Linked DNA regions of Homo sapiens: region 2 is linked to region 1. Evidence: promoter capture Hi-C in 16 types of primary human blood cells and fetal thymus (Javierre and others, 2016). All regions are on one chromosome and are shown on one strand. Each heading gives the region's core, a stretch centred on a gene start or on the middle of the fragment in contact. The rest is flanking DNA. Distances are from core to core; before and after follow the strand shown. Region 1 holds the start of ITLN1 (intelectin 1). Region 2 has its middle 33 kb from the start of ITLN2.

What was found. Contacts are between HindIII fragments. The CHiCAGO score rates a contact against its expected background, and 5 or more counts as called.
Region 2: a fragment that was not itself captured here is called in contact with the fragment with the promoter of ITLN1 in region 1 in 4 of 17 cell types (megakaryocytes, erythroblasts, naive CD8 T cells and 1 more); the score reaches 6.9 in megakaryocytes.

The regions. Positions count from the first base shown.
Region 1 is chr1:160,883,103-160,888,233 of GRCh38, reverse strand. It overlaps ITLN1 (intelectin 1), which reads left to right and starts at 3,054. Exons shown (of 8, transcript NM_017625.3): 1 at 3,054-3,173; 2 at 3,351-3,414; 3 at 4,708-4,806. The coding sequence starts at 3,357. The HindIII fragment of the contact is 4,692 bases long and covers 3,043-5,131 here.
Region 2 is chr1:160,985,401-160,990,531 of GRCh38, reverse strand. No RefSeq gene overlaps it. Among named protein-coding and RNA genes, the nearest start is that of ITLN2, 33 kb to the right of the region's middle. RefSeq lists a silencer at 2,839-3,133. The HindIII fragment of the contact is 816 bases long and covers 2,772-3,587 here.

The sequences.
Region 1 (5,131 bases), core at 1,805-4,304:
AAGGGTGTGTGCATGTGTGTGTGTGTGTGTGTGTGTGTGTGTGTGTGTGTATGTGTAGAGGTAAACGACCAAGAATAACCAAAAAAGAAGAGCAAAGTGAGAAGCCTTGCTCTACTGGATATCAAGACATTTTATCAATCTAAAATATTTGGAACAATGTGGTATGGGCACAAGGAAGTGCTGATTTCCATCACAGTCAGGCCAGTAATTACCTTTGGGAAGGGAGAGGTCTGTTATCTGGAAGCAGCATATGGGAAGCTTCTGGGTGCTGCTAAAGTTTCATTTCTTAGCTAGGATGATAATTACACAGGTATTTGCCTTTCTTGTAATTTATTAAACTGCACATTTAATGTTTTATATCTTTCTCTGTATGTGTAATTTTACAACAAACCTTCTCCAAGTCACTGGAGATGTAGATGTGGGGCTGGAGTGAGTTGGTGGTGAGGGGCTTTCTTCCACACTCTTCTATCTTCATGCACATCTATACTGTCACATACGTACCTATACTCTCAGCACTTTGGGAGGCTGAGGCAGGATTGTTTGTGCCTAGGAGTTCGAGACCAGCCTGGCCAACATGGTGAGAACTCGTTTCTACCAAAAATACAAAAGTTAGCAGGGTGTGGTGGTGTGTGCCTGTATTCCCAGGTGCTTGGGAGGCTGAGGTGGGAGGATCACCTGAGCCTGGAAGGTTGAGGCTGCAGTAAGCTGAGATTGTGTCACTGCACTCCATCCAGCCTGGGCAACAGAGTGAGACCCTGTCTCAACATAAATAAATAAATAAAATAAAATAAAGAGAAGCTGCTGTCAAGCAAGCCTGGATCTTGCCCTCTCTCTCGATTTTCTATTTCATGAGGTAATAGATTTACTTTTTAGAAAAGCCACTTTGAGATGGGGTTTCTATTAGTTACAGCTACAAGGAACCAGACTGAACTAAATAAATGTCCAGGGCAGTGGGGTTTGGAGGAAGTTGTGTGGGGAACAGATTCAAGAGGAAGTAGGGGTAGAATCAATGGGACGCAATCACTGATTGGATGATGATGGTTAGAAGGGGTAATGTCCTTAAAATGGATGTACTGTTTTCCCAGTCTATTAGATGGCATCATGTACCATTAAGGATGAGATGCATAATGATATTAAAGATGTCAAAATACAAAAAAAGTGTCTTAGAATCAACTAAAGAAAGTAGTATAAGTGTATATTTTCTTTTTTTATTTTTGCAAATATGTTACTGTTTTATTAAGCCATAAAGTTTTCAGGTGGTTAGTTACACACAGTAATGAACAACTGAGGGGATGTTTAATTTTTTTCTCTAGATCTTGGGCCCTTGGTGTTAACTTTATATACATGTATTTACTATTGTGAACTGTAAACTTAGAGACCTCTATTTTTTTTTTTTTTTTTTGAGATGGAATTTCACTCTTGTTGCCCAGGCTGGAGTGCAATGGTGCGATCTCAGCTCACTGCAACCTCTGCCTCCCGGGTTCAAGCAATTCTCCTGCCTCAGCCTCCCGAGTAGCTTGGATTACAGGCGCCTGACACCGTGCCCAGCTAATTTTATATTTTTAGTAGAGACACGGTTTCACCGTGTTGATCAGGCTGGTCTTGAACTCCTGACCTCAAGTGATTGGCCACCCTCGTCCCCTCAAAGTGCTGGGATTACAGGTGTAAGCCGCAGCGCCTGGCTGAGACCTCTATTTCTAAGAGGTTGTTGTTTGTAAATATGAAAGCTGGGTATGTTCATTTTGTTACCTATACTGATGAGTTAATTTAGTTTCTAATACATTTAATTTTATTTAATTAATTATTTTCCAGATACACAGAGCAAATAGCTTCTAATAGATTTTAAATTTACAAAAGTATAACTTTTTTTTGCAGTTTTTCTTCTTGGGTGCTATTTTATTTTCTTCTATCAATATGTGAGTATTTTTTGCAAATCAGTACTTTGAACCAACAAATAGGAAATATTAGCTTAACAAAAAAGATATTCACAATCTTTGTAAGAAAAGGTTGCAGTATTATTAATGCTATAATGACATTATGTATTAAATGTATGATATCACTGGGGAAGAACTGAGTAATTCTATTACAGCTGCAGGGTAGCATTTGAGAACTTCATGACATAGGAGCAGGAATAAGACAGGAGGTTCGAAGCAGCAGAGAGGTTTCGTATTGATTCAGTTTCAAATGAATCCTGTAGTAAATTTTCCCTCGTTTGTGGCAAAATGACAAAATTAAAGACAAAGTAGTGAGTCTTTGTGTGAAACTAAATTATTCAAACTAAAGATTTATATATTTTTTAAAACTTTTCTATTCGTATTTTTTTGTGTGTTTTGTATCTCTTTCCCCTCCATTCCTTTTTACCAATTTATTCAGAAATGATCACTTTCCCATTTTGTTAAAATTTCCTTTTTCTATTTCTATGAATTGATAATTATGGCCAATGATTAATTTCATTTATTTATTTATTTTGAGATACCTAAGCTGAAGTACAGTGGCACGGTCATATTTCACTGAATCCTCTATCTCTGGGACTTAAGTTACCCTTTTGCCTTGCCTCAGCCCCACCTGAAACTATAGGCAAGTACCACCATGCCATGCTAATTTTTTTACTTTTATTTTTAGTAGAGAAGAGGTTGCCCTATGTTGCCCAGGCTGGTCTCAAACTCCTGAGTTCAAGTGATCCTTCTGCCTTGGCCTCCCAAAGTATTGGGATTTGAGCCAATGTGCCAAGCCAACAGATGCTTAATTTAGAGAAAGTTTTTATTTTGCAAGAAAGAAAGGCACAAAAACCCAAAACCAACACCAACTCTTGTTAATCTCTTCGTCTACTTCCTACTTGACACAGGTCCATGAAACCCCCAGATCCAGGAACAACGCTAGCAGGTGATTCTTAGGATTGGTTTTTTCTTTAGAACCTGTTAATTCCACTGTATAAATAACCTCCCCGAGATAACCAGAAGCCTCCCCTGCACTGGGCATTGTGCCAGGGGAGGGTGAGGCTGGAAACCTTGGTTGGCCCCACTGGGCTTCCTCCATAAAGCTTTCTGCACCTCATTCCACATCAGGAGCGTTTTTGGAGAAAGCTGCACTCTGTTGAGCTCCAGGGCGCAGTGGAGGGAGGGAGTGAAGGAGCTCTCTGTACCCAAGGAAAGTGCAGCTGAGACTCAGACAAGGTCTGTGAGTTGGGGGAATCCTGTTTTCAGCTTAGGTCTGCTTTTGGTCTCAGAGATGTGTGAAGTTTAAACAAAAGGCAAGGGGTTTTGGAGTCTTTGTAAGACTGGACAGGGGTGGGGCAGGGATGTAGAGAAAAATGATGGCCAAGATGGTGACCTTCATCTTGCTTTCTTTAGATTACAATGAACCAACTCAGCTTCCTGCTGTTTCTCATAGCGACCACCAGAGGATGGAGTACAGGTGAGTCACGCTGCTAGGGACAGCAGTTCCTTCAGCTGGATGACTTCCGGGATCCTGGTCTCTCCCAGGACACAGAGCATGTCCTTGAGATGCACAGCGGCTGGCTTGCATGTAGACTGAGTGCCGATTTCTGGTCTCTGGCGGAATCTGGCCTGTGGCAGTGAAGGTATTGCTTGAGGCATGTCCTGGGTCCAGGCTCTGTGCTTTTGTGTGGCCCTGAGGGGGCTGTGGCAAGAACTGTGTCACCTTCCAGCCACTGCCCACTCCTGTGGCCTTGGCTGTGGGATTTCCATGGGAACTACATGGTCTGCTTTGTGCCTGGAGAATGTTCTCTCCACAGTTTTCCTCTCTACAACAAGAATAACAATGACATTTTAAAATTTATATTTTTCTTCACGTCTAAAAATTTTTTTTTTAAAGAAAAGGCTGTTTCGAAATATCTTCTTACTTCATCTTTGCAAAAGCACTGTTTATTAACTGTGTTTTAGGTATGAGGAAACTGAGGTCAGTCACCTCTGACCTCACAGCTTTCCCCTAGACTGTTCGAATAGTTTGCAGACTTTTTGGAGTAGAGATTAGTCTCACCACTCCCTACTTCACACCCCATGTTTCAGCCATATTAAGCAGCTTGTAGTTCTACAGCTGGACTACGCTGTATTTTTTTTTTTTTCTCTAGGCCTTTGGATATGCTGTTTTCCCTGCCTTGGATTGGCTTCCTACTGATAAATCATGTTTATTCTCTCAGAATAAGCTAAGATGTCACCTGGACTGGAAGGTCTTCTGTGACTAAGACATGAGACAACCCGTCTTGCCTTCTTCTCCCAGGCAACTGCCCCGCTTACTGTCTGGCGTTTCCATTCTCCACTGTTACCTCAGAGTCTTTCTTTTGTTCTCTTGAGTTTGCCTTTCTTCTACCATTTATTCTTGTCAATACAATTTTCTGTTGACTTGTTAGCAATTCCCTCTAGAGGCAAGCTCTTGCTGGGGAACTTTAATGTCTTTGATTACTCAGTGCTTAGGGCAGGACCCAGCACAAGGACAGGTCTTGTGGCGGGAGGCAGACTTTAAGCCTGTGCTGGCTGTCAGGTCGGATGGGCTGAGTGGATATGATGCCGATGGGCTGAGTGGATGTGACACTGATGGGCTGAGTGGATATGACACTGGCTGTCTCAGGCCTTACCACCCGGGCAGCGAGGTTCTGCTACAGTGGTGGAATGAGCGTGGGACTAGTGATAGGAGAGGGTAGGTTTTGTGTCAAACCGGGAATGAGAATAAACCCTGTGTATTCCCTAGATGAGGCTAATACTTACTTCAAGGAATGGACCTGTTCTTCGTCTCCATCTCTGCCCAGAAGCTGCAAGGAAATCAAAGACGAATGTCCTAGTGCATTTGGTGAGTGATGAAACATTCAAACAGAGCTCAGTCAGGGTATCAGGATTGTGTCTTCTGGGAGTCTTTTTGTCTTTTAGTTAAAAAATTATGGTAAAGTATATGTATATTATAATTTACATAAGATTTGCCATTTTAAGCAACATTAAGTGTGCAATTCAGTGGCATTAATTACCTTCAAGGTTGTGCAACCATCACAGCTATCCATATGCAGAACTTTTTCAGTGCCCCAAACAGAAACTCTGTACTTAATAACATGGAGGGGCCGGGTGCGGTGGCTCAGGCCTGTAATCCCAGCACTTTAGGAGGCTGAGAGGGGTGGATCAGT
Region 2 (5,131 bases), core at 1,930-4,429, 100 kb before region 1:
GAAGGAGCAGGAAATTTAGTAGGTAAGTAAAAGTAAGTACAAAGGCACAGCTACGAAGAAAAGGTACTTTTTCTGCAACTAGATATGCTACCACTAGGTGGAGCCAGACTCTCCTGGCATGGAACTTTTTTTTTTTTTTTTTTTTGACACGGAGTCTCGCCCTTGTCGCCCAGGCTGGAGTGCTGTGGCGCGATCTCGGCTCACTGCAACCTCCACCTCCCGAGTTCAAACAATTCTTCTGCCTCAGCCTCTCGAGTAGCTGGAATTACACGCGCCCGCCACCACACCTGGCTAAATTTTTTTGTAGTTTTAGTAGAGACGGGGTTTCACCATGTTGGCCAGGCTGGTTTTGAACTCCTGACCTCAAGTGATCCGCCCGCGTCGGCCTTCCAAAGTGCTAGGATTACAGGCGTGAGCCACCACGCCCAGTCTGACATGGAACTTCTAAACAGTGATGCTACGTAACAGGCCTGGTTCGCTGGAGATAAGTAAGAGGGGATAAAAATAGTTAACCTTACCTATCTGATTGGCAAAAATTCAAAAGCTTGATAGGGAGTCTATCTGAGCCTGGGCAGGTTCTGGAAGCTGCCCAATTTAAAAAAAACAATGGCGCCTGGTGCGGCGGCTCACGCCTGTAATCTCAGCACTTTGGGAGGCCGAGGCAGGTGGATCACGAGGTTAGGAGTTCAAGACCAGCCTGACCAACATGGTAAAACCCCGTTTCTACCAAAAATACAAAAATTAGCTGGGCGTGGTGGCACGCGCCTGTAATCCCAGCTACTGAGGAGGCTGAGGCAGGACAATCGCGTGAACCCAGGAGGCGGAGGTTTCAGTGAGCCGAGATCACGCCACTGCACTCCAGCCTGGGCAACAGAGCAAGTCTCCGTCTCAAAAAAAAAAAAAAAAAAAAAAAGGAAAATAAAAGACAAATGGCTGGGCATGGTGGCTCACACCTATAATCCAAGCACTTTGGAAGGCTGAGGTGGAAGGATTGCTTGGGGCCAAGAGTTTGAGACTAGCCTGGGCAACAAAGTGAGACCCTGTCTCTATGAGAAAATTAAAAAAAAAAAGGCCACCTTTTTGATACGAAAGGAGGGGAAATAAGAAAGCATACTATATTTGCTTATTTTTGCAGAAACAAACACAGGAAGGAAAATAAACTAAATTGGTTATTTCAAGAGGTAGATAAGGTCTAGATGAAATAGATACATGATCGGCCGGGCGCGGTGGCTCACACCTGTAATCCCAGGACTTTGGGAGACTGAGGCGGGCGGATCACGAGGTCAGGAGATCGAGACCATCCTGGCTAACACGGTGAAACCCAGTCTCTACTGAAAATACAAAAAATTGGCCGGGCGTGGTGGTGGGCACCTGTAGTCCCAGCGACTTGGGAGGCTGAGGCAGGAGAATGGTGTGAACCCCAGAGGCGGAGCTTGCAGTGAGCCCAGATCGCGCCACTGCACTCTAGCCTGGGCGACAGAGCGAGACTCTGTCTCAAAAAAATAAAAATAAAAATAGATACATGATGGAGTATTACTTCTCTGAGTTTATTTACCATTTTGTCTAGTTTTGACTTCTGGATCCATGTTAATGTTTTGCACATTAAAAAAAGTTGACAAGAAAAAATATGCAGAACATGCTTGTCCTCAGGCTTGTCAGAGACTCCTATAACCATATAAAGAAGCTGAGGGTTGATCATGCTTGAGCTATGATACTTATTAAAATAGTACTAGAAAGACAAATAGAATGTAGCATGGCAAAAGAGCTGCACATTTTGGGAGAAGGCATTTATTTGTAGGGGCTGAAATGTGCTAGCTCGAGAATCAGACCTAAGAATTACAAGGTGATTAACCAAAGGAAAAAGTCTCTGGAAGTAGAAAACTAAAAAGAAGGTTTGGAACAGGCTGGAAGTGAGATTGAAGCATATCACAGAAATGTTAGACATTCTTCAATGTCAGTGCCTTGGATGAATTTATAAGGCTTTGCCTTAAAGTTACTTGTGGGCTTATAAAGCCTGTGTCAAAGCTAAACAAAGCCAGACAATAGTTTAGACAAGAAGTAAGGATAGGTATTTATTTATTTATTTGAGATGGAGTTTCACTCTTGTCGCCCAGGCTGGAGGGTAATGGCGCGATCTTGGCTCACCGCAACCTCCGTGTCCGGGGTTCAAGCGATTCTCCTGCCTCAGCCTCCTGAATAGCTGGGATTACAGGCATGCACCACCACGCCCGGCTAATTTTTTTGTATTTTTAGTGGAGACAGCGTTTCTCCATGTTGGTCAGGCTGGTTTTGAACTTTTGACCCCAGGTGATCTGCCCACCTCGGCCTCCCAAAGTGTTGGGATTACAGGCGTGAGCCACTGCACCCGGCCTAGGATAGGTTTTTTTAAGTAGTAACTATTGCAGTAGGGAAGAGGGCCCAAGGTGAACTGAACTTAACTTCCTTAAAAAAAAAAAAAATGCAGGAGGCCTTTTGAAGGCTGGGATGTGCTAAGGGATAGGCATGAAGATATTAAGGAGAATTGCTCCATGTGACTAGACAATCTGGATTTGTGAATTGGCTCTTGTCCAGAAGAGAAATAAGCACCTATTTTTACGACAGGAGCTAGTAGTGCAAGTTAGAGCAAGGCACCCACCTGGTTGGGAGCTGGAGCAAGATTTATTTCCTCAAATGTTTGCATTTCAAAGAAACTCTCAGGTCCCAGTGAAAATAGCTCTGGGTAGAAGATTTACATCTCAAAGAGGCAGAGAAAGATGTTTTAATTGCAAGCTTTCTTTCTAAGTAATTGCACTAAGATGAAGTTCAGGGGCCTGTGTCTATTGCTAGGTTTGGGCTGGGATGCACAGTAAATTTTTCTGACAGCGATGAGCTTTTTCAGGCAGGCATTTTAAGCGGGGGGCTGAGGTCCTCCTAGGGACAAGGCCTTAAGTTGCTAGAAGCCATGCTAGAGCTTGGTTAAGGAGAGTCTTTGTTACCTGGCGTCTCTCTGCAGTGCCGTTTCAATGCCTTAGAGCAAGAGAGTGGTGGATGGACAGTGATAGTGATTCACGTGCGCAATTCACAACTTGCATTAGCAACCAGGCAAAAGCAAGTGCTGCTTTTAGAGGCCTTGGGAAGAATTTCCACAAGTTTCCGGCCATTGGGATACAGGGGAAAAGGGATTGGAGGGAGGCTCATCGGGAACAATACATTAGGTAATGTTGGGGTTTATAAATCGATACCCCCAAATATAGTACTGAACCGAAGAAGCAACCTGAAGATCTCTCTGACCTTCCCCGCTCCACACGGTCTCTCCCAAAAAGCTGAAGTTCCTTTATTTGCCTAAGATCCAGACCCTCCAAGGAGAACAGTAGGTTTCTTTTCCTCCTGTAAGACCAAAAATGTAACCACACCTGAACAGACCTTTTCATGAGTTAATGCCTGCTTCTCATGGTCATCTAAATTCCAAAGAAAACTATTTACAAGTTAATTTGTTTCCTGATCAAATCATTCTCTTTAGTAATCATTTATTGCCCATCAACAGAATTCCTTTTCTCCCGCAGGATCCAAACTCATTCTTTCTGTAACCTCATGATGGCGTATAAGCTTTTGCACCTCACTGGGAGGTTGGGTCTTCATTCTGAAGGCTTCTATGTATACATATTAAATAAGTTTGTATGCCTTTTTTCCTATTAATCTGCCTTGCGTCAGTGATTTTCAGCAAACTTCAGGGAGCCAAAGGCCTTGGCTCCCACAGTGATAATAAACAATATGACTTTTGGCTATCAAAATTCCTGCTGTTAGTTAAGGAAAAATTGTGACAGTTTCTGAAATGGACAAATACAGGCATCCTTCCAGTGGATTACTAGGATTTGTCTAGACTAGAGGACAGGATGCTTCTGGGGGTTTTCTGATTCTCTACAGGTCAGTATCCTTCCTTGTCTTGTACTGTTTTGCAACTCTAGAAAGAAAAGTTAAATATGTAGAAGCCTGACAGTGATACAAATGATCCCTGTTCATATTAATACAAATGCAAATTGTTTGCCTGGTAGAGATACAATTGATTTTCTCTCTGTAGAAAAAAAGATGATCCCAGCCAGGCGTGGTGGCTCACCCTGCAATTCCAGCACTTTGGGAGGCCGAGACAGGCAAATCACAAGGTCAGGAGTTCGAGACCAGCCTGGCCAATATGGTGAAACCCTGTCTCTACTAAAAATACAAAAATTAGCCAGGCGTGGTGGTGGGCGCCTGTAATCCCAGCTACTCTGGAGGGTGAGGCAGGAGAATTGCTTGAATCTGGGAGGCGGAGTTTGCAGTGAGCTGAGTCCTCGCCATTGCATTCCAGCTTGGGCAACAGAGTGAGATTACATCTCAAAAAAAAAAAAAAAAAAAAAAGAATCCCAGAAATTAAATGTTTTATATTTTTGCCACAAGAAAACACGTGCAAGTATGAAACTTTTTGTAAGGTCCTCTGAGCTGGCTGCACTATGGTCAAGCCACGGTGACATTCCCCCACCCTTGTGATAATGTACTTTGTGATACTCCTGTCCTTGTGAATGTACTTTGTAACATTCCTCCCCACCCTTGTGACAATACATCCTCCCTGCCCTTGTGACAATACACCCTCCCTGCCCTTGTGAATGTACTTTGTAACATCCTCCCCACCCTTGAGAATGTACTTTGTAATATCCATCCCCTGCCTGTAAAAAATTGCTCCTGACTACACCGCCTATCCCAAACCTATAAGAACCAATGATAATCCCACCACCTTTTGCTGACCCCTTTCTCGGACTCAGCCCACTCACACACAAGTGAATAAACAGCCATGTTGCTCACACTAAGCCTGTTCAGGTGGTCTCTTATGTGGACACGCATAACACTTTTATTATTATTATTATTAAAAAAGTAATAATAAAAAGAGACAGAGTTTTGCTCTTGTTGCCCAAGCTGGAGTGCAATGGCGTGATCTTGGCTTGCTGCAACCTCTGCCTCCTGGGTTCAAGCAGTTCTCCTGCATCAGCCTCCCAAGTACCTGGGACTACAAGCGTGCACCACCACGCCTGGCTAATTTTTTGTATTTTTAGTAGAAACGGGGTTTCACCATGTTAGCCAGGCTGGTCTCGAACTCTTGACCTCAGGTGATCCACCCGCC